Linked DNA regions of Homo sapiens: all the other regions are linked to region 1. The links are contacts of gene promoters, found by promoter capture Hi-C in blood cells and fetal thymus (Javierre and others, 2016). All regions are on one chromosome and are shown on one strand. The core of a region is centred on a gene start or on the middle of the fragment in contact, and the rest is flanking DNA. Distances in the headings are between cores, read along the strand shown. Region 1 holds the start of TEX52 (testis expressed 52). Region 2 has its middle 20 kb from the start of TSPAN9. Region 3 overlaps TEAD4 (TEA domain transcription factor 4). Region 4 holds the start of CACNA1C-AS1 (CACNA1C antisense RNA 1).

What was found. The method cuts DNA at HindIII sites, captures the fragments that hold promoters and counts their contacts. A CHiCAGO score of 5 or more calls a contact.
Region 2: a contact is called between a fragment that was not itself captured here and the fragment with the promoter of TEX52 in region 1, in 2 of 17 cell types (megakaryocytes and endothelial precursors). The highest score is 6.3, in megakaryocytes.
Region 3: a contact is called between a fragment that was not itself captured here and the fragment with the promoter of TEX52 in region 1, in 5 of 17 cell types (megakaryocytes, M2 macrophages, endothelial precursors and 2 more). The highest score is 10.6, in megakaryocytes.
Region 4: a contact is called between the fragment with the promoter of CACNA1C-AS1 here and the fragment with the promoter of TEX52 in region 1, in 3 of 17 cell types (total CD4 T cells, naive CD8 T cells and total CD8 T cells). The highest score is 5.4, in total CD4 T cells.

The regions. Positions count from the first base shown.
Region 1 is chr12:2,853,429-2,860,696 of GRCh38, forward strand. TEX52 (testis expressed 52) reads right to left here and starts at 3,611. Exons shown (of 3, transcript NM_001365174.2): 1 at 3,527-3,611; 2 at 1,468-2,018. The coding sequence starts at 3,598. FOXM1 (forkhead box M1) reads right to left here. Exons shown (of 9, transcript NM_021953.4): 9 at 4,252-6,235. The coding sequence ends at 5,210. It also overlaps a transcript of ITFG2 not described here. The HindIII fragment of the contact is 21,263 bases long and covers 1-4,826 here.
Region 2 is chr12:3,053,883-3,061,150 of GRCh38, forward strand. No RefSeq gene overlaps it. Among named protein-coding and RNA genes, the nearest start is that of TSPAN9, 20 kb to the right of the region's middle. The HindIII fragment of the contact is 1,356 bases long and covers 3,653-5,008 here.
Region 3 is chr12:3,025,492-3,032,759 of GRCh38, forward strand. The region is part of intron 10 of TEAD4 (TEA domain transcription factor 4); the gene reads left to right. Among named protein-coding and RNA genes, the nearest start is that of TSPAN9, 48 kb to the right of the region's middle. RefSeq lists an enhancer at 6,674-7,235. The HindIII fragment of the contact is 2,524 bases long and covers 2,551-5,074 here.
Region 4 is chr12:2,688,012-2,695,279 of GRCh38, forward strand. CACNA1C-AS1 (CACNA1C antisense RNA 1) reads right to left here and starts at 3,146. Exons shown (of 4, transcript NR_045725.1): 1 at 3,058-3,146; 2 at 2,796-2,968; 3 at 2,129-2,199. It overlaps CACNA1C (calcium voltage-gated channel subunit alpha1 C), which reads left to right. Exons shown (of 47, transcript NM_000719.7): 46 at 436-768; 47 at 2,889-7,268. The coding sequence ends at 3,188. RefSeq lists a silencer at 3,606-3,875. The HindIII fragment of the contact is 2,873 bases long and covers 2,052-4,924 here.

The DNA.
Region 1 (7,268 bases), core at 2,361-4,860:
CGCCCAGCTAATTTTTGTATTTTTAGTAGAGACGGGGTTTCACCATGTTGGCCAGGCTGGTCTCGAACTCCTGACCTCAGGCGATCTGCCTGCCTTGGCCTCCCAAAGTGCTGGGATTACAGGCGTGAGCCACCAGGCCCGGCCTGTTTTTTTTGTTGTTGTTGTTGTTTTTGTTTTTGTTTTTGTTTTTTTTTCAGATTAAAAATCTTCACAGCCACTCCAACTCCCCAGTGCTTTGGTCCTGCCCTTGGGATTGGAATTTGAGACATTCCTTTTCATTGCCTTCCCCCTTTCTTGTTACTCTTGCATGCGTAGTGCCTGGGCTGGACACAGTTGGGAAGCATCCGTGAGTTCCCAGGGTGGCCGGGAGGGGGAGCTGCGGGGTTCACAGCGGCTCCTCTCAACGTTCCTGGCTCCGCTCCCGACTTCTCAGCCCTGCCTGGAGGGGCTCAGCCACTGCTTTTAGCTGTCTGCTGGCTTTCCACCCTTCCAGCCTGAACCCTGACTTCCCCATGAGGCCTTCCTGTGGCGGGGACACTCCAGGTCGCTGCACCCCTTCTCTCCTGAATTTCTGTAACGACATCTAACTTTTATTTAATTAATTTATTTATTTAGAGATGGAGTTTCTCTCTTGTTGCCCCGGCTGGAGTGCAATGGCACCATCTTGGCTCACTGCAACCTCCGCCTCCCAGGTTCAAGTGATTCTCCTGCCTCAGTCTCCTGAGTAGCTGGGATTGCAGGCACCCATCACCACACCCGGCTAATTTTGTATTTTTAGTAGAGATGGGCTTTCTCCATGTTGGTCAGGCTGGTCTGGAACTCCCTACCTCAGGTGATCCGGCCGCCTCGGCCTCCTAAAGTTCTGGGATTACAGGCGTGAGCCACCACGCCCTGCCATAACATCTAACTTTTGTTCAGTTCTTCCACATATTCACTAGCTCAATTTATCCTCCCACAGTGAGGTCGGTACCTGAGGCTCCCCCCTTCATCGGTGAGGGAGCTGAGGCTGGAGAAGCTGGGCACCTCACCATGGTGATGGGGTTGGAACTGTACTCCAGGCCTTCGGGCTACAGCTTTCACTCCAGTTCTTTACATTAATAACTGACTTCCTTACAACACCCCCTGTCTCGCACTCTGGGCCCTTTGCATGTGTAGCCTTTTTTTGATAGCTATCTTTGCAAAGCTCCTTGAGGGCAGGCACTGAGTCACACTTCTCTGTGTCCCCAGTGCCTACCAGGTGTCACCTGCATAGCTGTCCCCCAGATTTTAGTGAAACTCCCTGCCTCCACTCGCTGTTCCTCCCTTGTCTCCACCTCGTCCTTCCAGCTACACTCAGAAAAGAGTTTGGTTTTCAGATGGCCAGAGCGGGGAAGGACAGAGTCCCGGTTAGAAACAGGAACCTGAGAGAGGGAGGGGTCACCTGGGCAGGGCAGGCTGGGTGGGCTCCCTGAGGAGGCACCGTCTTACTTCTTGAAGCTCGCTGGCGGCTGGATGTTGCCCTGGGCATCGAGTGGGGGTGCTCTTGCCTCACTCCTCAACTTGAGCTTCTCCACCTCCTTCAACTCCTTCACTGTCCTGAAAATCACCTGCTTCTTCCTTTTCATGTCCACAAACGTGGGATAACAGTGGATGAAGGTCAGGAAGCTGTTTTGCCCCATCCAGGAGGGAGGGGGGATGGGGTGCTCCGTGGGGGGGCATCTGTGGGCATTGGAGTCGGTCAGCCAGCGCCAGACATTGCTATCGTAGGGCCTGTCAGGCTGGGTGGGGAAGGTGGCAGGCAGACGGCACACATCGAGCCACGTGTGAAAGCCCCAGGTGTGCTGGGCGCCACCCTTCCAAGGGTGGATGAGCCGCTGACGCACCTTGGACTTCATATCTGTGCAGGGCGGCAGCTTCAGAGCCAGCTGGTGGTAGGCTTGCCGGGTGAAGCCAGGGAACTCCCAGGACTCGCTGGGGAGGAAGAACTCACGCTGAGCCCACGTTTGGGAGGGTGGGAGGGACTCGCTGGCCTGGACCATCTAGGGAGAGACAAAAGGGAGCCTGGGGAAGGTTGTGCAGACAGGGGTGCAGAAAGGTGGGTGAGGCACTCCGCTCTCCTTCCCAGGCACGACCTCTGCCAGCCCAGGATTCTCATGAGGACGCAGAAGTCCTGGCAGGGCCGCATCTCCATCCCTCTCCTTCCCGGCGGAAGTTATGGCTGCTGCGTATCATCTTCACAGTCACTCATCTTTTGATCTCTTGCCATTGACCATATTTTGGCTTTGACTTCCCACCCTCTGTACTCAGCTTTCACTCTTTACCTTCACCTCCCTCCTCCGTTCTGGCATCCCCACATTCCCACCCAGGAACTGGTGCTCCTTAGAGGGCACATCAGGCCTCAGGAAATCATGAAGGGAAATGCTCCCTACCATGCCAAGGGGGGCAGCCCACCTTCACTTGCTCCTGGTCTTGGCGGTATACCAGGAAAGTCCTCCAGAAAATAGGGCCAGGGGTTTTCCCATCCCAGACTCCTCTCAATACTCATTTGTCCGTCACTGACGCTTTCCTCCCACTCCTCATTAAAACGCTAGTATAGAAAGCATCTAGAATGGCAGCTCCTTCCCCTTTCTGCACCCTGCCCCCCATTAAATAAACAGCAGCAAGTACATATTGATGCTGTGCTAAATACTTACATGGATCTTATTGAACCCCCACAACTCTATGAGCAAGTATTGCTATCGTCCCCATCTCAAAGATGCAGAAAGCAACACACAGTAAGGGTAGGTGACTCACACAGGGTGCTGGTGCCTGAGTGACAGCTGGGACTTAAGCCCTCTGTCTGTGCTCTTGCTTGGCATACCATGCTGGGTGAAATGAAATGGCCTTACTTAGCACAGTGCCTGACTGCAACAAAAATGTGCCTCTTTTAAAATGCTTCGCCCTCCTATCCATCCCCAGGGATGTTTTCTTTTTTTAGATGGAGTTTCACTCTTGTTACCCAGGCTGGAGGTGCAATGGTGCAATCTCGGCTCACTGCAACCTCCACCTCCCGGGTTCAAGTGATTCTCCTGCCTCAGCCTCCTGAGTAGCTGGGATTACAGGCGCGTGCCACCATGCCTGGCTAATTTGGTATTTTTAGTAGAGACGGTTTCATCATGTTGGCCAAGCTGGTCTCAAACTCCTAACCTCAGGTGAACCGTTCCCCTCGACCTCCCGAAGTGCTGGGATTGCAGGCGTGAGCCACTGTGCCTGGCCCCCAGGACTTTTCTGATTGCAAAAACCCACCTGTTTCTTGAGCTTGGGCCCCTAAGTCATTTCTACAGGATCACCCCAGTGGGTGGGGCTGGGAGATGTGGCACTAGCCAGGCATCTCCTCTCTGTTCTGAGCTCTGGGTTCCTAGTGTCATAGGATGAAAAGGGGAAGACAGCAGAAAATGTATGGGCCAGGCAGTCTGCTGCCCAGAAGAAAGCCTGGCCCACTATAAGGGACAGCCTGTAGCCCAGTGGGGTACAAAAAGGTAGGCGGCAGAGATGGGCCACCCCCTACCTGCAGGAAAGGTTCTTCCATATGAGATGGGTGACTGGGCCCTCTGAGTGATCTTTGCCGGTTACTGGCCATTCTTCTGGGCCTCAGAGCCAGGAGGGGCGGCTTTGTGGGGAAGCCCTTTCTGGCACCATTGTTTACTCCTGGGGTTGCTATGGTGATGCTGCTTGAGTGGTGATGCAGAGAAGAGGCCCTCACCTGTCCCTGGAGCCTCTTGTGACCCTTGGGCCCCTGGCTACTTTTCAGGTTAGACAGGCAGGGGATAGCACTTTCTTCAAGTTCTGACTGCAAAAAACTGTAACAGGAGCTGCTGCCGGGCAGAAGAAAAGCAGGGCAGGCTGGCTCCCAGGCCTCAGGGTGGGGATGGCAGTGGGAATGAAGCACCTGTAACTGGGCCCTTCCTGCCCTAATGTTCAGGGGGCCCTACCCCTCGTGAGCTTGTCTTATTAAGAACCCTCAAAAGGCCTAAGTTAACCAGCAGGTCCAAAGGTCCCAAGGAACAAGGTCAGAGACGCCAGGGAAAAGAGGTGAGCTGTGCAGGACTAGCACTGGGAAAACTGGCAATTTGTGTTGTCAAGTGTGTGCCTGTGCAAGTGCTCCAACTGCTGCTTTGGGTGAACTTCAGGCCTTGCCTCTTCCCTATCACCATCGTCTCCATCAACACCCTCTTTCTTTTCCAGCCTCTCCTGGTGCCTTAGGAATCAGACGCCAATAAACCACAGAGCCCAGCATGTCCACCTTCGCTTTTATTGAGTAGTTAGTGTTCTCAAGCTGGCTCACACCCATGCGGTCAGCTGGGGCCTAGGGTGGCTCTTTGCAAAGCTGAGGGGCAAGCTAAGGAAGCCAGGCAGGTCAGGGGCCCTTTCGGCCTTCTCAAGCCTCCACCTGAGTTCTCGTCAATGCCAGTCTCCCTGGTATGATTGGGGACATTATCAGAGAAACATCTAATAGCGCACATCTGGGCACCCACACTCTGCTTCAGTTGCATCCATCCTCCCACCCCAAATTCAACTCCTGACCCAATACAAAAGACTTTTTTAACCAGGATTTCTTCTTGCAGGAAAGCTGACTTGGAAACACGGGGAGGTGGCAGGGAGGGGCAAAAAGGACTCTGGCAAGCAGATCCACTTGTCTGGGTCCCTGCAGTGAAGAACCCAAGATCCAGGTACCTCAGCCTGGAAGAAACCGTGCACTGCAGGTCTTCCCTTCTATCAAAACTAAAAGCAAGGAACAGAAGTCAATTGAAACCCCAGGTCATCCTACCCACCTTCTGGCAGTCTCTGGATAATGATCTAAGGAAATAAGCTTACATTTATAATTAGAGGATAATTTGGAGAATTTATACTATTTACACGGACCACCCTGCAAAGATCAGGGAAGGTAAGAGACTGCTGGGCAGAGAATGGAAACAGGCTGGGGGGTTCCTAATCTCTTTTCACCATTGCCTTTGTTGTTCCCACCCTTCAGCTCCTGGCAGGGACAGCAGAGGAATCAGATACTCTTGGGGAACACAAGGTCCCAGCAGTGGCTAGGGTGTGACTGCTACTTTTGCATAATCAGGCAGCAGGGAGCTATGAGGAGCAGAACAGTCCCTGCCTGCTGTCCTCACTCAGAGGCTTGGGGTGCACTGAGCCTTGGAGTGCCCGGGATGGTGGACAGCTTGAGCACAGGGGCAAGGGCAGGGCTCTACTGTAGCTCAGGAATAAACTGGGACCAGTTGATGTTGTCAGGGCCCAGTGGGTCCTCGTCCAGGCCAGGAAAGCTGATGTCCAGCAGGATCTTGCTGAGGCTGTCATTCATTGTGTCCAGGACCAGGCCTTCTGTCAGAGAACGATTGGCTGCAAGGCCAGAAACCTGTGGCTCCGGGGAGCCTGGCTTGGGGACGTCTATATCTGAGGGAGAAGAGTTGCCAAAGGGGACGGAGATGAGGTCTAAGGGTTCTGAACTGAGGAGCCTTTGCGGTGATTCAAGGGGGGGAGCACTTTGCAAGGGAGTGGTGCTGAGATCCATCAGCCCCAGGGGGTCAGGCAAGGGGTCAGAGGCACCCTGGGAGGTTTGTACTGGGCTGAAATCCAGTCCCCCTACTTTGGCTGGGGGCGTGAGCCTCCAGGATTCAGGGGTTCTGGGGAGGACAGATTTGCTCGGGGTGGAGGAGATGGGCAGCGTTTCCTTAATGGGTGTCTTAAAAGGTCCTCCCACTTCCTGGGAGTAGCTGAGCTGGGAGGCAGGGTCAGAGGAGTCTGCTGGGAACGGGAGCTCTGCGGCCCAGCGGGAAGTACTGGGCCCCTCTGAGAAGAGCAGCTCCGGCTCATCCACACAGGGAGGCAGTAGATGCTGTTTTCTCCGAGACCGGCTCCTCTCCCTCCTCTCCCTGTGTTGAATCACAAGCATTTCCGAGACACACCGGGTTGGGGACCTAAGCCCACTGTAGGACTTCTTGGGTCTTGGGGTGGGAGATTGGGACGAATCCTCCCAGGAGTGAGATGATTCCTCTTTGAAAGATGGGGCCGGGGAGGGCCACTCTTCCAAGGGAGGGCTCTCCACTTTGATGGGTCTCGCTAAGTGTGGCATTTCCTCCCCAGGCTGGATTTCTTCCTCCTTGATAGTCTGAACTGGAAGCAAAGGAGAAAACCCTTCTCCAAACAGGAGTTTCTCCTCTTTCCCTGGTCCTGCAGAAGAAAGAGGAGCTATCCCCTCCTCAGCTAGCAGCACCTGAAAGGGAAACAGAGATAAGGTGAACCAACGGTCACCAGACAGGACGCACAAAAATATCACATACGGGTTCTGATCCTCTTTGTGTCGTTTTGAAGTCTTAAAATCTATTAAATATGAGAATACGATGTATGTTGAAGTTGGTAGTTCAATTCTGGGGGTAAAAGATGCGGGTATGTAGTATGTAGTGGCATAATTATAATAGCATTCATCCGAGAGGAAATAAAATTGCATGCTTGTCTTACACTGTATACAAAGATTTAATGCATGAAAATAAGAACCTTAGGCTGCTCTGATGGTAGCGGGTAGTGACATTATTGTCACTAAAGTTGGTACACAACCCCCAACTGCTAAATTTGACTGGCTTTAAAAAAAAAATGAAAACCTTAAAATCATACAAATCCTGAAAGAGAATCTAGGAGACTACATATACAATCTGAGGGTGCGGGTGACCTTCTTAACCAAGACTGGAAACCCAGAAACTGTAAAAGAGAAGAGAGACATTTGACTACATAAAACTTTAAAATTTTACTGTGGCAAGAGATACCATAAACAAAGTTAAGAAACAACAAACAATGCCTGTAATCCCAGCACTGCAAGACACTGAGGCCAGTTTGAGACCAGCCTGAGCAACATAGTGAGATCCCATCTCTACAAAAAAATTTTTTTTAATTAGCTGGATGTGGTGGCATGCACCTGTAGTTCCAGCTACAGGTGGGAGGCTGAGGTGGGAAGATCACTTGAGCCTGGGAGGTCAAGGATGTAGTGAGCCTTCATTACACCACTGCACTCCAGACTAGGCAACATAGCAAGATCCTGTCTCAGAAAAGAAAAGAAAGGAAAGTAAAGAGATAAACAATAGAAGTAGAAAAATATCTTCAGCATAAAAGAAAGAAGATTATTTTAACAACAAAGAGCTCTCACAGGGGGCTGGGTGCGGTGGCTCACGCCTGTAATCCAGCACTTTGGGAGGCCAAGGCAGGCAGATCACCTGAGGTCAGAAGTTCGAGACCAGCCTGACCAACATGGTGAA
Region 2 (7,268 bases), core at 3,081-5,580, 200 kb after region 1:
TTTATTTTTTAGAGATGGAGGTCTCACTATGTTGCCCAGGCTGGTCTCGAACTCCTGTACTCAGGTGATCCTCCTGCCTTGTTTTCCCAAAGTGCTGGGATATGGGCATGAACCACTGTGCCCAGCCACCCTGACTACAGCACTTTTCAGTTTACAAAGCACTTTCTTTTTTGTTGTTGTTTTTGTTTGTTTTTTGTTTTTGAGATGGAGTCTCGCTCTGTCGCCCAGGCTGGAGTGCAGTGGCACGATCTCGGCTCACTGCAAGCTCCGCCTCCCGGGTTCACGCCATTCTCCTGCGTCAGCCTCCCGAGTAGCTGGGACTACAGGCGCCCGCCACCACGCCCGGCTAATTTTTTGTATTTTTAGTAGAGACGGGGTTTCACCGTGTTAGCCAGGATGGTCTCGATCTCCTGACCTCGTGATCTGCCCGCCCACCTCAGCCTCCCAAAGTGCTGGGATAACAGGTGTGAGCCACTTCGCCTGGCCCCCTACAAAGCGCTTTCAAATACAACGTCTTTCTTGCCGTTTACAGCTACACTGTGATACTGTAGACATCCTCTTCACAGATGAAGAAATAGAGGCTCAGAGAAATCACTAACTCAACGCCACTTGGTTACTAGGTTGCAGATCTTGCACTGTACTTCAACTTGGAAGTCCTGGCGCCTCCACAGTGCTCGTGAAAAGAGGTGGACAGCAGGTGACGCATGTGCAGGGTTTGCCTAAGGCCAGGTAGGAGAGTTGGAAGCTGGCCCTGAAGGCCCCAGAGAGCACCAGCATTAAGGGAGAAAGCAATCCCTTTTTGGTGCAACAATTACCCTCCTTCCCTGCCTCTCTGCCTCCCTGCCTCCCTGCCTCCCTGCCTTCCTACCTTCCTTCCTGCCTTCCTGCCTGCCTTCCTGTCTTCCTGCCTTTCCTCTCTCTCTCTCTCTTTTTTTTTCTTTTTTTTAAGACAAGATCTCATTCTGTTGCCCAGGCTGGAGTGAAGTCGCCCGATCTTGGCTCACTGCAGCCTCTGCCTCCTAGGCTCAAGCAATCCTCCCACCTCAACCTCCAGAGTAGCTGGGACCACAGGCACACGCCACCACGGCCAGCTTATTTTTCGGTATTATTTTTTTTTTGTAGAGACAGAGTTTTGCCATGTTGCCCAGGCTAGTAAAATATTTCTATAGGGGTGATGTGGGGTGCAGGAGATTGTGGAGAATAGAGGGAAGTAAACATTAGACAAGCACCACGAGAGGGAAATGTGCTTGCCAGCTGGCGCGCTAGCAATCCCATCTTAGAAGTAATCAGGGAGTAATCAGATGTTCAGACCAAGAGTCTGCTGAGTGTCTTGTGACTATATCAATGTTTTCTCAGAATCAAAGGGATCTGCTTCTCTTCACAGCCTCGCTCCCTCAGAGGCCAAGCTGAGAAGTTTTGAAGTTTGGCATGATTCTCTTATTCTGCTTTTCCTTGTCAGTAACTACTTTGCTGACTTCTTTCCAATTTCTTTCTCTAAATCCCCACCAATCCTGCACAGACCCTTTGGGGCTGGTGTCTGCCAACATTATGTTGAAGTTGCCGGGGACACACAGATTTCTGATTTTAAGCTGTTTAGGGGTTTGCACCGTCTTAACAGCAAGCAAAGGTGAGTGACTTGTACGTAACTCGCTCAAGTTGACACAGTCGGAGAGTGGAAGCTGGGACTCAAAGCCAGCCTGTGACTTCTTAGACCACACGCTGTCTCCCAGCATTAGTTCTGGAAAAGGAAGAGCCCCCAGGAAACACCATTCCGTCCATCACATCCCTGTGCCCCTTTCATCTTGACGGACCCACCCTAGCACTGGCCCTGGAGACACATGAAAGCACGCCTCAGATGCCTGCTCCTGGGAAGGCCTCGAGCCCCTCCCGGCTTATAATTGGCCCACTTGCTCTTTCTCTTCATCTGGCTGGGGCTTGGATTCCTGGCTGGAGTCCCTGGCTTTGATATTTGCTTTTGCTCTCCTGGTTTGGCAACTCATCACATTCCCCGGGTGGCCTCCATTTTCTGTTAGCCCTCTGCCCTGCTCCCTCCTCTGGGTTTGTGTCCTCCCAGGGCCTCCAGTAGGAATTCTAGGAATGCCTAGAGTCCAGACAGGCCTCATTCATCCCATAAACATGTACTAAGCACCTAGGGTGTGTTGGGCACTGTTCTGTCTGCTGGGGATGCAGCAGTGAATAAAATCAAAGTCCCTGCCCTTAAGGAGCTTATATTCTACTGGGGGGAGTCACATAACAAATGAAGAGTTGTGTCAGGCCTCCTATTCTATTTCTCCCCCTCCCAGCCATACCCAAACTACTCTTGGATCTGATCTGCGTGACAGAGGCAAGGCCACACACACACTAGATCAACAGAGGGAGTGTGAGATGCAGAAGTGAGAGGCGGCAGGTGCCCCAAAGCCTCCTGACACAAGGTCACCGCTGCTGTGTGAAAGAAAATGCTAGAGAAGGCTGGGTGCAATGGCTGACGTCTGTAATCCCAGCATTTTGGAAGGCTGAGGCAGGAGGATTGCTTAAGTCCAGGGGTTTGAGACCAGCCTGGGCAACATAACAAGACCCCTAATCTATAACAAAACAACACTACAGAGAGAGAGGGCGGACCTGGCTGAGGGAGCAGCCCCAGCCTGTGGTCACTGGGACCACGGAAGGAGCCACATGCACAGGTGCTCACTTGTGAACAGCACCTACTTTCTGGGCTTCAGAGCGTGGTCCCCGGAAGAGTGCCAGTGCGTCATCTGGGAGCCCACTGCACGTGCAAACCTCACCCCACCCACTCCAGCCCTTCCCAGTCAAAATCCTCAGGGGGTTCCTGAAGTTTGAGAAACAACAGAGCTAGACTTTTTGACCAGGTACAGATTGATCACCCCAAAGCCATGGTCAATCCATGATAACTCCTCTCCCCCATGGAGATGGAGTAGGGATATGAGTGGGATACAGAGACTTCCTTCCATGGAAAGGTATGCATTTGAGCAGCATATTCATCACCGTTTGTAAAAATTAGTGACTTTTCTCTTTACAAACAAAACACCAATAAAAATGAATGAAAGAAAATTAAATTTGAAAGAGGTGCTTCCTTTTAATTTGACTTGTAATATTTTTAACTGTCAAAATTTCAACAAATAAATCTCTTTCTATACTTTTGTGTTAGTTTATAAGCTACTAAGTCATGGTCAGTTGAGTTTTTAATGCCTGAGGGAAGCTTTTATGCGTGGAGAGGAACAAATTTATTTGTGTATTTTACTTATGTTTCCAGTTTATTGAAGGTGTACATTTTATTGTTATTTTCATTTTTATTTGTTTTACTTTGTTTTGGGGGGACAGAGTCTCGCTCTGTCACCCAAACTGGAGCACAGTGGTATAATCATGGCTCATTGCAGCCTTCAACTCCTGGTCCCATGTGATGCTCCTGCCTCAGCCTCCCAAAATGGTGGGACCACAAGCATGAGCCACTGCACCCAAAGTTGTACATTTTCAAGACTAGTTTTGTTAAGTTCAACTCATACAATTTATTACTTTGCTCATAAATCTAGTATTTTTATGTTACTTTGCTCATAAATCTAGTATTTCTATCACTTGTTCTTTGATTAATGCCTGATTAGCTTATAAATTCTCTAAACATTAAATATTACTTATAAGCTTGATTAATTAAATTAGCTTAGGCTGTTTAAACTATATTAATATTAATATTCAAACATCTAACAAGGCAGATATACAAATCTAACAAAATCTTAGACACTAAGCATGTAGCACTAATAATTTAAACACTATTCACAAAACATAGCCTCAATTTATAGACCCAATTAGATTTATTTAAGCATTTAACCACCAAACTTAATCTACCTAAATACTAAACTAATATCACAAGTTTAATGTCACATGCTTTTACACTTTTCCAACACTTTAAAAAGCAGATTTTAAAATTCTATACTTTAAAGTCATTAGTGGTTAATTTTGTTACGTGAATTTTACCTCAACTAAAAGCAGATAAAACCCAAATCATCCCAGTGTTTGCAGTAGTTATTACCTAAAGCTATTAAAGTAGTTACTCCTTAAAGGTATTACAAGAGTATTAATGTACGTTCGTGTCCATCATCTTCTTTATATTTATTTTTAAGCCTCTATCCAAAGAAAGAAAGCAGAATTAGCCTCACAGTTGGGCTGAAATCAGTTGAAGATGTAGGTCTGAGGTACGGTTACAGATCGGGGTATGAGTTCCAGATTTGGAGCTGCCGTGCTGTTCCAGTATGGAGAGATGCTTGGAGCCTGGGCACTGGGTCTGGGAGTGGGGCCTGGATGTGCCTTCTACAGTCATTTCTCCCAGGCTGGCAATTATCAGTGTGGGTGGCTTCCTTTGGTCAAGTTTTTCCTGCCGAATTAACAAGATTCATAGAACTCTCACTGTTTTGTTTTGTTTTGTTTTTTGTTTTTAAATAACTCAGTGCATCTTTCATCCCTGAGTGTCCTTTAAATCTCATTACCTGATATAAATACATAAGTACAAGAAATTCGGGCTGGGAGCGGTGGCTCACGCCTGTAATCCCAGCACTTTGGGAGGCCAAGGCGGGCGGATCACGAGGTCAGGAGATCGAGACCATCCTGGCTAACACGGTGAAACCCCGTCTCTACTAAAAATACAAAAAATTATCCGGGCGTGGTGGCGGGCGCCTGTAGTCCCAGCTACTCGGGAGGCTGAGGCAGGAGAATGGCGTGAACCTGGGAGGCGGAGCTTGCAGTGAGCCGAGATCGCGCCACTGCACTCCAACTTGGGCGACAGAGCCAGACTCTGTCTCAAAAGAAAAAAAAAAAAGTACAAGAAATTCATAGCTTAATTATGAATCAAAACTTGGCTATGGTATGCACAGTGTTTTAAAAGTGGACACTTCAGAACAATTGGCTTTGGCAAAACAAAAACAACCAAAAACCAGTTGACATTTTCAGGAGCTCACATATACTTTTAGTATAACCCATATCCAGTACCATTATGGACTCAAGCTTTTCACTACATTTTTGTTTTCTTTTTGATAATCAGATGATCACAGTTTTGCCTTTTTTTCCTTTCTTTTCTTTTCTTTTTAGAGACAATGTCACTGCAGCCTTGAACACCTGGGCTCAAGGGATCCTTCCACTTCGGCTTCCCAAGTAGCTGGGACTACAGGTACGCGCCACCACACCCAGCTAATTTTTTTATTTTTTGTAGATGTGGGGTCTCGTTATGTTGTCCAGGCTGGTCTTGAATTCCTGGCCTCCAGTGACTCTCCTGCCTCAGCCTCCCAAAGAGTGGGGATCACAGGCATGAGCCACCGTGCCTGGCTGGCTTTGACTTTTTTTCTTTCTTTTTTTTTTTTTTTTTTTGAGACGGAGTCTTGCACTGTCGCCCAGGCTGGAGTGCAGTGGCGCCATCTCGGCTCACTGCAAGCTCTGCCTCCTGGGTTCACGCCATTCTCCTGCCTCAGCCTCCCGAGTAGCTGGGACTACAGGCGCCCGCCACCACACCCGGCTAATTTTTTTGTACTTTTAGTAGAGATGGGGTTTCACCGTGTTAGCCAGGATGGTTTCGATCTCCTGACCTCGTGATCCGCCCGCCTTGGCCTCCCAAAAGTGCTGGGATTACAGGTGTGAGCCACCGCACCCGGCCCAGCTTTGACTTTTTATGCTGCGTCCTTTTTCCTTTTAACACTACCTTAAACATTTTTGTTTTTTAACTTACATACTTCTAGCAAAGTCTGCTCAGGCCAACTCTGATTTTTCTTGCACCAAGGTATGGAATCAGCTATTCCCCAAGGAGCCCTGTTTCTTTGAGTGGCAAATGTTATCAGTTGAATGTTATGTCTGGGCGCTCATGGTGCGAATCACATTATCCGTGTGAGAACTAAAGGCAGGCGTCTGCTTCTAGTGCACTCCAGTGGGAGCTGGGAAATGAGTTCGTGCTGATGTGTCCAATTCAACTCCAACTCTAAGTCCTTTAAAAAAATACACCCTGTTATAAAAGGTTTTCATTTTTTTCTCCCCTTTTAAACTTCCAGCTTATTCTTCTTTTATAAAAACAACTATATATATATATTTTTTTCTACCTCCTTCCCCCCATATGTGTATTCCAATTAAAACATTAATGAACTTTTTAATGTCATAAATGGATGTATACCTACTTAGATCCCAGACACCCTGGCAAGGGCTTCAAATGTGCCATCTTCACTTTTATACTCCTTGTGTGTCTTATCAACCATCATCCTCTGGTCATTTATTGACAGTCACACAATTTCATTTCACCCAACTCTATTGAATTCATGAGACTTTGATTTCAATTTCAAACCATCGGCATGGGTTCCTGCTGTCCAGGAGCAATCACGCCTTCTGACTCTTCCCTGCGTTTGGTACTGGAGATCGGGGATGTCATTTTCTCATTGTTTCTCCCTGTTATCTTCAGGGCTCCTCTCAGACGGTCTCTGCGACCTGCTCTTCAGAGAGCTTCCGGAGGAAATATAATTAACATGCATCTAACAAAGTTAACCTTTTTAACAATTTTTATTCTTTTTTTTTTTTTTGAGACAGTCTTGCTCTGTCACCCAGGCTGGAGTGCAATGGCGCGATCTCGGCTCACCACAACCTTCGCCTCCCAGGTTCAAGCAATTCTCCTGCCTCAGCCTCCCGAATAGCTGGGATTACAGGCTCCTGCCACCATGGCTGGCTAATTTTTTTGTATTTTTAGTAGAGATGGGGTTTCACCATGTTGGCCAGGCTGGTCTCGAAATCCTGACCTCAGGTGATCCACCTGTCTCGGCCTCCCAAAGTGCTGGGATTACAGACGTGAGCCACCACGCTCAGCCACACATGGGTTTTTATAAATAAGCAGATTTCTTTTTCATAGTGCATGCAATGGAGAAAAGCAGATAACTCTATCTCCATCAGCTTGTCCCCAAAGTCCAAGCCCCTCTCCTTGTCACCCAGCACACCCTCATCTCAAGTGCTCAGCCTTTCTTGTCCTGACTCAGCTCCTACCTTCCCCACATCCCACTTCCTCCACCATGCTGCCCTGACGTAACCAGCAAACGTCCTATATCCTCGCACCTTCTGAAGAGGACACACCCTAAGAGGCCACCATGATCCCTGGCTCCTGGTGCTCACACCTCTGTGTAATGCCCTCTCCTTGAGTACATGTGCACCTGTCACTTGCTTCTAATGAACAGAATATGCAGCGGGGTTGGATGTCACACTGTGATGGAGTGATATTATGAGACTGTCTTGCTAACAGA
Region 3 (7,268 bases), core at 2,563-5,062, 170 kb after region 1:
GATCATACATCATTTTCCCTAGAAAATGATGACTTTTTTTTTTTTGAGACAGGGTCTTGTTTCGAGATGGAGTTTCGCTCTGTTGCCTAGGCTGGAGTGCAGTGGCGCAATCTTGGCTTATTGCAACCTCCACCTCCCAGGTTCAAGCAATTCTCATGCCTCACCCTTGCAGGTAGCTGGGATTACAGTCGTGTGCCACCAGGCCTGGCTAATTTTTGTATTTTTAAGAGAGATGGGATTTTTCAGTGTTGGCCAGGCTGGTCTTGAACTCCTGGTCTCAAGTGATCCTCCTGCCTCGGCCTTCCAAATTGCTGGGATTACAGGTATGAGCTATCGTGCCTGGCCTAGAAATGATTTTCGAGGATCATTCTTTAGTGCATTTGTCATTATCTTCTGACATAAATAGTCTGATAGCATTCTAATTCCCTATCCTTTATTATGTAACTTTTTTTTTTCCTCTGGAAGTTGTAATGTTTCTTCTTTCTCCCTAATGGCCAGTTTCACATTGGTGAGCTTTGGGATATGTGTTGTTTTACTTCCCCGTCTTGAGCCAGGTACTTGGTAGGCACTTTTAACTGTGAGATGAGTCTTTCAGTTTTAGGAAATGTACTCGTATTATTTCTTTGATAATTTATTTCCCTCTGTTTTCTGTTTTCTTTTCCAGGAATCTCTGTTATGATGTTGGAACCCTCTATGATGTTTACCATTTCTTTATTTTCTTGGACTTATCCTCTACGATTTTTACCATTTATTTTCAATCTTGGTCTGTTTTCTTAGCGATTTCCTTAATTTTGTATTCTGACTCTTTTCTGAATTAGTTAAGGTTGTGTCCAAGTGCATATCACACAAACCCCAAAGAAACAGTGGCATAAATAGTTTTTCTTTCACATCAAGGAAGTCTGGAGGTAAAGACTGTCCAGTGCTGGCCCAGTGCTCCTGACATCATGAGGGACCTGGCTTCTCTCTATCTGCTGTCCTCAGTGTATGACTTCTGTACTCAGGGTCATGACTGCTGGAGTTCCAGCCACTGTAGCCATCTTCCAACCATCAAAAGAAGCCAGTTTAGCTCCCTGTAAGGGGCCTGCTGGGAAGCCCCATAATTAGTTGTGTGGCTGCATCTTGCCGTAAGGAACCCGGGAAAGGTACTTTTTTAGTTGGGTAAGTTGCTGTTCTGAATAAAATCAGAGCTGTAATACTGTAGAAGAAGCTGCATACATCCTTTTATGGATGTATCTTAGTTCAGTTGATGACATTTTGTTTTTTCTGGGTAGTTTATAAAGTGTGCATCCTACAGTTAAGGGTGAATTAGATGAGTGGAATACAGCAGCATCTCTGCCACACCTTCTGTTGAATATTTAATTTCGGCTCTGACATTTTAATTTTCCAGAGCTCCTTCTTGTTCTGTGATTGCATCAAGATGTTTGATGGATGTAGTTTTTCTCCTCTTTTTCTTAAAGGTATGAAGTAAGTGTTACTTCTTAAGTTTTCTCCTGCTCCTAACCCTCCCCCAACCCACGCCCAGACTAAGTTTTGCTGTGTTGCCCAGGTTGGAGTGCAGTGGTGTGATCTCGGCTCACTGCAACCTCCGCCTCCCTATTCAAGCAATTCTCCTGCCTCAGCCTCCCAAGTAGCTGGGATTACAGGTGCCCGCTACCACGCTTGGCTAATTTTTGTATTTTTAGTAGAGAGAGGGGTTTCGCTATGTTGGCCAGGCTGGTCTCGAACTCCTGACCTCAAGTGATAGATTTACAGGCGTGAGCCACCACACCCAGCCTCCTGCTCCTTTCTTTGTCTTTGTTTCTTTTTAATTCCGTTTTTCTGTTTGTTTTGGTCCTTGTCTTTCCAGCTGGAGGGTTTTCTTTGGTGTCTTTAGTTCTTAGCTGCCTGTCTGTATTTTTTTAACAGCTTTCTTGCAATGTAATTAACTTACCTTACAGTTCACCTACTTAAAACATACAGGCCACGCACAGTGGCTCACATCTTAATCCCAGCAGTTTGGGAGGCCGAAGCAGACAGATTGCTTGAGCTCAGGAGTTTGAGACCAGCCTGGGCACATGACAAAAACCTGTCTCCACAAAAATAATACAAAAATTAGTCAGGCGTGATGGCATGTGCCAGTAACCCCTACACTTTGGGAGGACGAGGCGGGTGGATTGCTTGAGTCCATGAGTTGGGGACCAGCTTGGCCAACATGGCAAAACCCCATCTCTCCTAAAAATACCAAAATTAGCCAGGCATGGTGGTGCGTGCCTGTAATCCAAGCTACTCAGGTGGCTGAGATGGGAAGATCGCTTGAGCCTGGGAGGCAGAGGTTGTAGTAAGCTGAGATCACACCACTGCACTGCAGCCTGGGTGACAGAGCAAGATCCCATCTCAAAAAATAAAGTATACAATTCCGAGTTTTTAAGTATATTCACAAAGTTGTGCAACCATCACCACAATCAATTTTAGAACATTTTCATCATCCCGAAAATAAGCCCTGTTCCCTTTAGCTGTCACTCCCCACTCCTACCCCCCAGCCCTGTGCAATAATCTACTTTCTGTCTTTGAAGCTTTGCCTATTCTGGACATTTTGTATAAAAGGGTTTGTGGAGGATGTGGTCTTTTGTGACTGGCTTCTTGAACTTGGCATAGTGTTTTCAAGGTTCAACCATGTTGTAGCACGTACGTTCCTTTTTATGGCCAAATGTACGGAGAGTCCACATTGTTTATCCATTCATCAGTTCATGGGCATTTGGGTTGTCTCCTCTTGGCTGTTAGGAGTAGTGCTACTGTGAACATTACGTACCAGTGTTTGTGTGGACGTTCATTTTCATTTCCATATGCTTATGTCTGGAATTACTGGGTCATATGGCAACTCTCTTTCACTTTCTGAGGCACTCCCAAGAGTCTTCCGAAGTGGCTGCACCGTTTTCTGTTCCCACCTGCAGGGTATGAGGGTATGAGGATCCTATTTTCTCCACATCCTCACCAACACTTGATATTCTCTGATTGTAGCCATCCTAGCAAATGTGAAGTGGTATCTCATTGTGGTTTTTATCTGCATTTCCCTGATGACTGATGATGGTAAGCATCTTTTCATGTGCTTACTGGCCATTCGTATATCTTCTTTGTAGAAATGCCAATTCAGAAATTTAGGTCCATTGCCCTTTTTTTTTTGAGACAGTCTTTCTCTGTCACCTAGGCTGGAGTACAGCGGCGTAATTTTGGCTCACTGCAACCTCTGCCTCCCAGGTTCAACTGATTCTCGTACCTCAGCCTTCTGAGTAGCTGGAATTACAGGCACGCACCACCATGCCCAGCTCATTTTTGTATTTTTGGTAAAGGCGGGGTTTTACCATGTTGTCCAGGCTGGTCTTGAACTCCTGAGCTCAAGCGATTCGCCTGCCTCAACCTCCCAAAGTGCTGGGATTACACGTGTGAGCCGCTGTCCCCAACCCCATTGCCCATTTTTATAATAAATTGGGTTATTTTTTATTATTGAATTATGAGTTCTTAGTTCTGGATGAAAGTTCCTTATCAGTTATATGATTTGTAATTATTATTTCCCATTCTGTTGAATGTCTTTTCACATTCTTTTTTCTTTTTTTCTTCAGAGACAGGGTCTTGCTGTGTCTTCCAGGCTGGAGTGCACTGGCATGATTATTGCTCACTGCAACCTTGAACTTGGGCTCAAGTGATCCTCCCGCCTCAACTTCTTGAGTAGCTGGGACTAGAGGCATGCACTACTACGCCTGGCCAATTTTTTTTTTTTTTTTTTTTTTGAGATGAAGTCTCACTCTGTCACCCAGGCCGGAGTGCAGTGGCATGATCTCGGCTCACTGCAAGCTCCGCCTCCCGGGTTCACGCCATTCTTGTGCCTCAGCCTCCCAGGTAGCTGGGACTTCAGGCGCCCGCCACCACGCCCAGCTAATTTTTTTGTATTTTTAGTAGAGACGGGGTTTCACTGTGTTAGCCAGGATGGTCTCGATCTCCTGACCTCGTGATCCACCAGCCTCGGCCTCCCAAAGTGCTGGGATTACAGGCGTGAGCCACCGCGCCCGGCCCAAGTTTTTATTTTTATTTAAATTTTTTATAGAGGGTGTCACTATGTTGCCCAGGCTGGTCTTGAACTCCTGGCCTCAAGTGATCCTCCTGCCTCAGCCTTCCAAAGTGCTGGGATTACAGGTGTGAGCCACTGTGCCTGGCCCCTTTTCACATTCCTAGTAGTGTCCTTTGATGCACAAACGTTTCTAGTGTTGATGATGTCCAGTTTATCAAGTTTTCCTTTTGTTATTTGTTCTGGTTATATTTAGTAGTGACTGGGAGCTCTTCGTGCAAGGTAGGACTTGTCACCTGGTGGGTTTCGCTTTAGGGTGATTGGGCTTGGGGAGCTAGCTGTTTTATTGGGGAAATCAATAAATATGTGTGTTTACTGGACTTTTTTTTCCCCCTGAGGTGATTTAGTTTCTCCAGAGACGATTCATCTAATTTCCCTGGAAGGGACATACTTGGTCACAAGTGTTCTGGTAGTGGGATAAAGGGTCGGGGGTAGGGGCCCTGACCATTTCTGATGCTGGCTTTCACTTAACTCTCCTGTTCTTACTCCCCCTCTTCCCTCTCTTTTGAATAAGCCCTGTGTCCCTGAGACCTGTTGCCCTCCTGTTTAATTTCTGAAGATGGTCACCCTTTGGTCCTCTTTAAAAAGTTTTTTTGTTTGTTGGTGTGTTTTTTAATTTTTAATTTCATAGAGACAGGGTCTTGCTATGTTGCCCAGACTGGTTTTAAACTCCTGGGCTTAAGCCATTCTCCTGCCTCAGCCTCCCAAAGTAATGGGATTACGGGCAGGAGCCACCATACCCGGCTGACCCTTTGATCTTCTACCGATGCATGGGAGGGGTGGGCCTGGGGGCTGGACTGTCCAGTGTACAGACTTTTTGTCAGTTCCTGGGGACAAATCCTGTTCCCTCCAGCTCCGAGCCACGCAGCTCAGCTTCTTATCTGTCACCCCTGAAGATATTGGTAGGTTGTGACTCTTTTTGCTTTCTCTACCCCGTGGAATCCAGTGTGGTCCTAATCAGCTTTGAGTCTCCAAAGCTTGCCCAGCTCTCTTGTCAGCTGGTCTCTTTGTTTTCTTTATCTTTGTGGTGCTGCATATTGTTTAAAGTTACTTGCTGTTGTCCTTCTAGCTGGGTCTCTGGAAGGGGAAAAAATAAACTGGGGTAGTCAGTCTCCCACCTTTAGCCAGGTGTCCAGGATGATGGGGTGACCTGTGTGCCACTTCGAAGGGGTCGGCAGTCGCTGTTTGGAGTGCTGGGCTGAGAAGGCTCTAGCAGGGAGGAGTGCTGGGTGGACGGTCATGGCCACGTGCGTAGCCAGGGAAATATTTGTTAGCCCTTCTCCTTAAGCGATGAGGAGTCATTTAAGGTTTTCGAACAGGGCAGGACGTGGCCAGGGTTGTGCTTAGTTGGTTAACTCTGGCACCCAGACTGGAAGCAGGTGTGAGACTCCTGCAGTGGAGACCAGGCAAGACGCATGTGCCTCCTGAGGACCTCGGCCGAGAGGCTGGCTTCAGGGTGTGGCGTGGGAGGCAGGATGCTGTCCACTTTTTCTCAGGAGGGGCTTAAATCATCTCCCAGTCTCCCGTCCAGCCCCGGTTGTGGGAATTGGAACCTGTACAGCTGGCAGTGGCGCTTCCCAACCCTGCTGTGAGTCTGAGGGGGCCCCCAGCCCCCTGGAGAAGCCTTCACCCTTGCTTGAGCACTCACCGCCCCCGGCCTGTCCAGGCTCAGCCCTGACTCAGCGGAAGGAGCTTAGGCGAGCTGATCTGTGGCTCTTTCCCGGCATGGCTCAGGACCCTGGGGATACAGTTGGGGTCAGAGCGGAGACCCAGTTGGCAGTGGCAGGAAGCACTCATGGGAACACTGCCTTGGAGCGGGAGGTGGCATGTCCGGGACCCTCTTGCACTAGCTCCTGCCTTTAGCTATTGGTGATATTCTGTGTTCTTCTAGCCACCCTCCAGATAAGGACCATCCTAGGTCTCTTGTTTCACAAGTAGGGGAAACTGAGGCATGGAGTAAGCAGGGCCTGGCCCTGAGTCCCCCAGCCAGGGTGACCTCTGTCCTGTGGGCACTCCTGTTGGATACATGCTGTGAGATAGATGGGCCCAGATAGACTGAGAGAGATGACAGCTGCACTCTTCTCACCACGTTACATACAGTCACACGTCTCATCCTCACCACAGCCAAGACTGGATAACCTCATCTGCAGAGGGGAAACTGAGGTACAGACAGGTAGAATCACCTGCCAAAGGTTGCCCAGTTCATAGTACCAGACCCATACCAGACCACGGGTCCATACCTGAGCAGCCTGACCCCAGGGTGTGTGCTTGGAGCCACCATACTAAACAGTCCTCCTTGCGAAGTCACTGGCTGCCCTCCATGCAGCATCCTGGAGCTTCTCCTGCTCCCACTGGAGAAGGCTCTGAATTGTCTAAAACAGATCCCCAGCCCCCTGAGGAACAGCAGGCAGTGGCAGCGTGGGGAGAGCAGACTTAGCTCTGTGCAGTCAATGTAGAGCCAGCCCCTTGGGCTTCTTGGGCGTTCTCGACCTCAGATATCCCTTCCAGAAAATAGGGCAGTGGCCCTGCGTGGAGACTAAGGTTGCCAGGAAGGAAGGAGGACCTAGAAGGTACTTTTCCAAACTTGGTAGTGGCCTGTGTCCTCTCTTTCTTTCTGACTCTTAGGGGAGTTTGGAGGTGGGGGTTGATGGGAGAAGAGAGGGTTGGGACAGCTGGTGCCAAAGACATGGGATTCAGCAGGTTCCCTTGTGGACCGTGTGCTCCAGCCGTGTGCTGTACGGACCCAGCGCGGCCCTCGGCTTCCAGGAGCTCGCACTCTGGATGGGAGGATCCAGCGCGAGTCTCGGGGTCCTGGGACAGGAGCCGCTGGACAGGGGGCTGTGGTGTGCCCCCCAGCAAGGCCCTTCTGATGTGTCATGGCAGGGCACGGTGGGCAGCAGTTGGCCCCAGCTGGGGCAGAGTCTCAGTTCTACCACTTGAGAACTGTGTCCTGGGCAAATATTGGCTTCTCTGTGCCTCTGCTTCTTTGTGTGAATAGTCAGCAGTTTGATCTTGGGGACCTGCCAGGGGCTGTGTCGCTGAAGACCCCGTGTATGTGGCCGGCTGGTACTGAGTGGGGGGCTGTGGCCTGCCCTTGCCCCACCCCTTGCCTGAGCCCTCTGAGTGCCAGCGGCCTGGGCAGGTGAAATCAGAGATGAGGGAGCGCCGG
Region 4 (7,268 bases), core at 1,896-4,395, 170 kb before region 1:
GCGCTTGAGCCTCACACCAGCCCCACAGGGCAGATGGATAGACAGCATTCGTTTTCTGGCTTTACAGACATGCAGGCCTCACCCTGCTCTCCATTCTATTGAGGACAAAACCAAGAGCGAGAGAATGCACAGCTGACAGGTGACCAGGCCAGGGCTAAAAGCAGGTTACCACGACTTCACCCAATCCCAGCTTTCAGAAGTTACAGGAGAAAGAGATCACTTCAGACCCAGATGATCCTAAGATGTATTTTGAGATAGTTGAAAGTCATGCCAGGTTGAGATAGGACCGACAGGGGAAAATAATGGCATGGGAATACCAGGCAGGTGGAGCTAGCTGGACACAGCAGCTGCAAAGCAGTGCTTGCTCAGAAGCAGGGGCCTGCCTTGTTTGGGGTCGGCCACTCCTATTAACTCACACTCCTTGTGTGTCCGCAGGCATTGGCAGTGGCAGGCCTGAGCCCCCTCCTCCAGAGAAGCCATTCCCCTGCCTCATTCCCTAGGCCTTTTGCCACCCCACCAGCCACACCTGGCAGCCGAGGCTGGCCCCCACAGCCCGTCCCCACCCTGCGGCTTGAGGGGGTCGAGTCCAGTGAGAAACTCAACAGCAGCTTCCCATCCATCCACTGCGGCTCCTGGGCTGAGACCACCCCCGGTGGCGGGGGCAGCAGCGCCGCCCGGAGAGTCCGGCCCGTCTCCCTCATGGTGCCCAGCCAGGCTGGGGCCCCAGGGAGGCAGTTCCACGGCAGTGCCAGCAGCCTGGTGGAAGCGGTAGGTGACTCGCAGATGGGCAGGGGGGAGAGGCCACGGGCAACAAGGGGACTTGGCATGCGGGGCTGAGAAGGGAGCACCTGGCTCTTGCCAAATTCATTGCAGTCAATATCTGAGCCCGAAAGACCCTCCCTCTCAGGGCTGCAGGAGGGCTCGTGTGCGGAAAGCCATGACTGCACAAGATGCTATGGGCTCTCTTGAGGCTGGGCCCACTGCAGAGGGCGGCAGAAACCACTGAGCAACTTATCCCTTATACTGCAGCTGCTCGACATGCAAATGTGAGCCTGGCTGCCTTTATACACAGACAGGCAAGATCCAAGGTGCTCAGGCCTGACTGCCCGTGAGCATCACCTGGGGAGCTTTGGAAACCCGGGACAGATTAACTGATGATTGTTAAAGCTCTTCGATGATTTTAACGTGTAGCAAGGTTGAGAGCCACTAGCCTAGAACAAGCGAGCTTTCAGTCCCACTGTGCTCTGCCTGGTCAGAGCATCTAGTGCAATCCCGGCACCACATTATTAGGGACCTTTGACACACTGGAACAAACCCAACAGAGGATGACCAGGATGGCAAGGTTCCTAGAAACCATTTCCTAGGAGAACCGTTTCAGGGAATTCGGGAAGAAAACCTGGAGAGGAGGTGACTTTGGAGGGTGCGATACACCTCTCACACCTGCAACGGGTGGGATGGGGAAAGGGTGGCAGGCTCAGCCCACCAGCGGACAGATTTCAGCTCACATGGGGAAGACCTTCCCAAATGAGCTCTTCCAAGATGAGAGGGGCTTGCCTGAAAGGTAGTGAGCCCCCCATCATCAGACATAGCCAAGCAGAGACTGTGCTCATCCGGGCGTCAGGCTGTGGTGCAGGAGGTGGGGCGTTAAACCAGGTGGCTTCCAAGGTTTACCTCTCAAAGTCTGGTATTCCTGTGGCCTCGATCATCCTGCATTCATTTCACAGACCTTCCCTGAGCGCCTACCATGTGCAGGCCCTGTTCTAGGTACAGGGACACAGCTGAGAAACAGAGCTTCTGCTCTCATGAGCTCACATCATGGTGAGGAGAGACAGATAATAAACACATACATATATAACACATCAGGAAGGTCAGGAGTGCCAAAGAAAAACTAAGCAGGGCAAGGAGAGAATGAGTGGCGTGGGCAAGGAGCAAGACAAACAGATGCCTGAAAGGAGCGAGTGCCAGGCTGCACTCAGCTTCCCCCGACCCGCTGGCTCAGGAGCCGATTTTCCCATAGCCAGGCACTAAGCAGCCGGTAGGGAGGACAGAGAAGCTTAAGGGTCACCTGCTGGCCCTTCCCAGCAGAAGCAAGGCAGGGGCATGCGCCGTGTTTGCACAGATACCTCACCCCTGGAAAGGCAGCAGCAGGCAATGGGCAGTGGGCCTGTCTCAGCAGTTTCACCAGGGAGAATGGTTTCTCTGAAAGAATAGTATAAAGGTTCAGTGGGTGTCAGAAAGGAGAGAGGCAGGCTGGGATCTGCTGATACAGCATCAGGGCAACCCCCCGGCCCCTCTGAGAGCCAAACCTTCTCTGGTTTTTGTTTTGGTTGTTTTTTGAGACAGGGTCTCGCTCTGTCACCCAGGCTGGAGTGTAGTGGTACAATCACAGCTCAGTGCAGCCTGGCGCTGCTGGGGTCAAATGATCCTCCCACCTCAGTCTCTGGCCTTGCTAAGATCACAGGTGTGCATCACCACACCCAGCTAATTATTCTTAAATTTTTTGTAGAGACGAAGTTTCCCTGTGTTGCCTGGGCCTGGTCTCGAACTCCTGGGCTCAAGCAGTCCTTCTGCCTGGGCTTCCCAAAGTGCTGGGTGACAGGTGTGAGCCACCGTGCTGGGCCATAAGCAAGTCTTCATATATTTGATGACAGTGTTTGACCACCCCAGCCAAAACTTCTCTGGCCTGCACATCCCTAATTCTGGCAGATGCTCCATCTCCACTTGTTCCCCATGGGTGCCCCTCCCAACACACACACGTACACGTGCACACACGCACACTTCCCCAAGTGACCTACCAGATACCCCCTCGCTCTAGCCCTCAAGGGAAGAGCTGGGCTCCAGGAGTAATGTTCCTTTGGTTCTTCATGGCTCCCACCCCGCTCCTTCAGGTCTTGATTTCAGAAGGACTGGGGCAGTTTGCTCAAGATCCCAAGTTCATCGAGGTCACCACCCAGGAGCTGGCCGACGCCTGCGACATGACCATAGAGGAGATGGAGAGCGCGGCCGACAACATCCTCAGCGGGGGCGCCCCACAGAGCCCCAATGGCGCCCTCTTACCCTTTGTGAACTGCAGGGACGCGGGGCAGGACCGAGCCGGGGGCGAAGAGGACGCGGGCTGTGTGCGCGCGCGGGGTCGACCGAGTGAGGAGGAGCTCCAGGACAGCAGGGTCTACGTCAGCAGCCTGTAGTGGGCGCTGCCAGATGCGGGCTTTTTTTTATTTGTTTCAATGTTCCTAATGGGTTCGTTTCAGAAGTGCCTCACTGTTCTCGTGACCTGGAGTTAACCGGAACAGCGTCTTCATTCATTTCTGTTGGGACCAGACGCGGAGCCTGGGTGCGCGAGCCGCCCTCCGGGAGGAAGGCGCCCGGCTGCGTCTGCAGAGGCGGGGAGAGGAGGCGGCGAGGGTCCCGGGGCGCGAGGAAGGCGCCTGCCCTCTCCCAGCTCGCAGGCCCCGGGCCCGGCCGCGCCTCCGCGGGGAGAGCACCCCGGCTTCCCGCGCGCCCTCACCAAAAGGACCCTACAGCAAACGGGTGTCTTTCGACTCTGCTTGTAGAAACCATTTGCACATATTCTGTACGAGCCTCGCTGTCTCCCTAGAGCCAGGGCCCTGCGGATTTGGAGAAGGGAGCGGGGCAGGACTTCCAGGAGGACCCCAACCCGGCCCGGAGAGGGAGGAGGAGGCCTCCAGGGGCGCGGAGCTCTGGGGATGGGCGTCGGGCCGGCAGTGGTGCGGCTCACTCCGTCCCTGCCCACCTGCGACGGGATCCCCCGACCGGCACGGGCCACGCCGAGCTCCCGGCCAGCCGCCGGCCCGCAGGCAGCGCGAGGGAGGAGCTGCGCCGCCGGCTCCGCCCAACCAGGTGGTGCTGAGCTTCCGCTGAGCGCTCTTTTGTTTTGTGGTTTGACACTTTTCTTGACAGCATGTTGCAGTTTCTTTTCGGTTTTGGTTTTTTTTAAATGTTTTATTTTGCTTTCCCAGCGGGAGGGGAGGAAGAAGAGTGTTTACAAAGTCCTGTAGCCCCCTCACCTTTCTGTTTTCACTTTTGCCAATGTACATCGGGTTTGGTTTTCTTGTATTATTTAAACGGTTGTGGTTTCCTTTTTCCACGGAGGTTCAATAGAAGCCGCTGCAGGAGAGTTTTACCAACCATTGTGTATGCCCAATAATTTGTTATCATTTCCTTAGGTAGTAACCTATTTTTGTTCTGGTTTGGTTCGGTTATCTAATGGAAAGGTAACTGGCAATGCACTTGATGTGGTCTTGCACATGTGGGTGATAGAGTTGGGTTCCTTTTTATGCTGGGTGTACAGGTGGGTTTGGGAGAGAGGAGCATGCGCGAGAGAGTCTCCGAGTGTGTGCGACGCGTGTGTGTGTGGTGGGTTGTCTGTGTGCATATGTCCTGCCCGTGTATATGCACCCACACCATGTGCCCGTGCACACCAGTGACTACGCAGTCCCCCCTTTCTGGTTTAGCTGTGGGAAGATCTGAATCTGGGGCCGTTTGAAAGCAAAAACAAACCACTGTCTCTGCTTCTGAAACGGGAATCAGTAACTCTTTGCATTTTCTGTCCCACAAGATATGCAAAAACAATGCAATAATATTCATTTAAAAATACAATTGTGAGTTGTGTTGGCATTAAAACTGTATTTTAAAAAAAGACAGAAATTTAAGGGAAAAACACAAGAAGGCATTTTGCTTCAATATATTCCGTGTAATGTTTTATTGCATTGATAATGTTTCTGTTGAAGAAACCGTTATACTTGAATTCAGGTCAGTTTCAGTATTTTTCAAATATTTTTTTAAAACTGAATTGCAATTGTGCCAAGCGAATATAATGAATTGAATTAAGTTGGTTTTCGGATTCACTTCTTGTATATTTTGCTGCATGTAAAGTAAATCATTTTGTATTTGGAGTGTGACAAGCTTTACCTTTGAACTCAAGTGCTTTTCTATATGTGGTTGGGGGAAAGGGAACAAGTTTTCTTTAGTTTGCACAATGAGCAAAGGTATCACCAGTGTAGTCATTATTCTGCTCTCCACAAACAGGTTTGGACATTACTGTTTTGCATATCTTGTGTTTGCTTACATTTCCCTCAATTTTTCCAAAATCGTTTGCTGGGTATGTTTGTACCGCCTCTTGCTGTGAGAGACCAGGACCTATTTTATTCCAGTCTTCACTCTGTCCACTCTGCTCTGGTCATCTGATTTGGTACTTCTCCAAGAACAGCCCTTCACTGTGAGGTGCAGGGAGGCGTTCTGATGAGCCCTCAGTCACTGGGCCGTCATCCGCATCCCCCATGGAAGAGGTAGCTGGCTTTCCCTTCCCTTCCACCACACGGAATTTTCTCTTTGGCTTCCTTAGGAAAGTGTACACTAACCGGGAGGATAAAATTAAAGTCAGGCTGCTTGGAGGGAGGGGCATCCTCACTTCCGGATTCTTGTTGCTCTACCCAACAAGGACAGCAGGGGCTCGAGAAAGGAACTGGTGAAACCCTGATCCATCTGAAAGTCAACTCTGCGTGCTCCTTTCTCCATCCCTTCCTCACTCTGGAGCAGCCTTTCCTTCAGGCTTGCCCTAATGTTTGGGCTGCCGGGGAGGGGGCCAGGACAAGGGAAGAGGCATCCGGAGCTCACAGTGGGGGTGGGAACAGATTTTTGTGGGGGCATCTCTAATGCTCACTTATATCTCCCTAGAACATCACTCTTTTGGTGCTGTGTCCTTCAAATGTATGTCAACAGTGGTGGCTGAAAAGGGACTGCTTTGGGGAAAACAGGACCCAACCATTCACCCAGAATTGACCCATTAAATCTCTTCCAGTCCTAGTGTTCCCTGAGCCCCTCTTGGCACATATATAAGTAAGCTAGAAATTACAATAAGGGACAGTCCATTCCTCTATGACAGCTTGCTGGACTGATTCATGACAAAGTGGAGAAATGTACTCAATACTCCCCGGTTAACACAGTCTAGAAACAGAGTTTCTTTATGGATATCCACACCCAAGTCATCCAAACTTTCTTGATTCCTTTTCACTGCCATCAAGGTCCTCTAGAAATTGAGTTTAGGTATCATCCTTTGAAAAGTTCCCAAGATTTCTACCAGGAGGTACACACAGGCGTTCCCTGTCTAGGGCAGGAGGACTATCCTAGCTTGACCTTCTGATCCACTAGAATAAGACTGGCGTATGATGCCTGTCATCAGAACAGACTGGCACAAGTAGTGACATCAATGAACCACAGCACAATCTTCCAAGTGATGTCTACTCTCCACCTAAAATGGAATTTTCCCCATGACCTTGTAAAACATAATTGTCACATCTTCCATACCCCTCCTGACAGCCCCCAAGTGTCAGGAGAAAACAGTCAGGGGCTAAGGGCCCAAGGGACTTGAAGAAACAACAGTTTAAGGTCTGCAGTTTGGTCAACTTAATTCTTGTCCTCCGACCAGCCCTGCCTCTTTCATTTCCAGACCTTGGAGAATTTTTCCCAGCTTTGATTCAGAAGGTACTAGTTATAACCCCTTTCCTTCTTCTTAATCCAATAGGCCTCACTCTCACTGGGAAATCCACTCAAAGGAACAAGGCAATGTCTCTCATTCTATTTCCCAGTTCCAAATTCCAGGTGCTTGTCTGGAGTGAAGCTACCCGTTACTTTCTCCCAGCTTTTCTCCACCCAGCATGTCTCCTGCCCATGCAGCTGAAGACAGTGGGGCAACCTCAGGAGAAGCAGACCTTTCCATGCCCAAGTTCATCTCCTGAGCAACAGTGACACCTAGAAAATGAGGACTTTGGAAGTCACCCAAAAGATGGTGGCTACTTTATGGAGTCCTGAAGATACACAGCCACCACTCCTAAAGGCAAAGAAAGAAAACACGAATGTAGGTCAGGGATAGAGTGGAACCCTGGTCATCGGGGTTTTTAGCCTCATCGTGGGAAAGGTGGTAAAGGAGGATGATGGCATCTCCATCCCTAGAGGCCAAGAATTGAAATATCATTGTCAAGGATTAGAAACAATTCAGCAAAGAGGCCACAAAAAGGGCCTGCTGACTCCCAGAAGACCTCTTTAAACCCCAGGGGAGGCAAATACTTGCTGATGGAGTCTGGGCCGTTTCCATATTTTAAAGAAGACCTGCCTCTGGGGCAAATGTCAGCACAGAGAGGACTGGGAGGAGAATGGAGGCAAGAAAAGGGCATATTTTGACTCCCTCTGTGCCTCTTCCCAGTTCATGGAAGGATGTGTTCAGCTTACCCACCCACAGTGACCAGTGT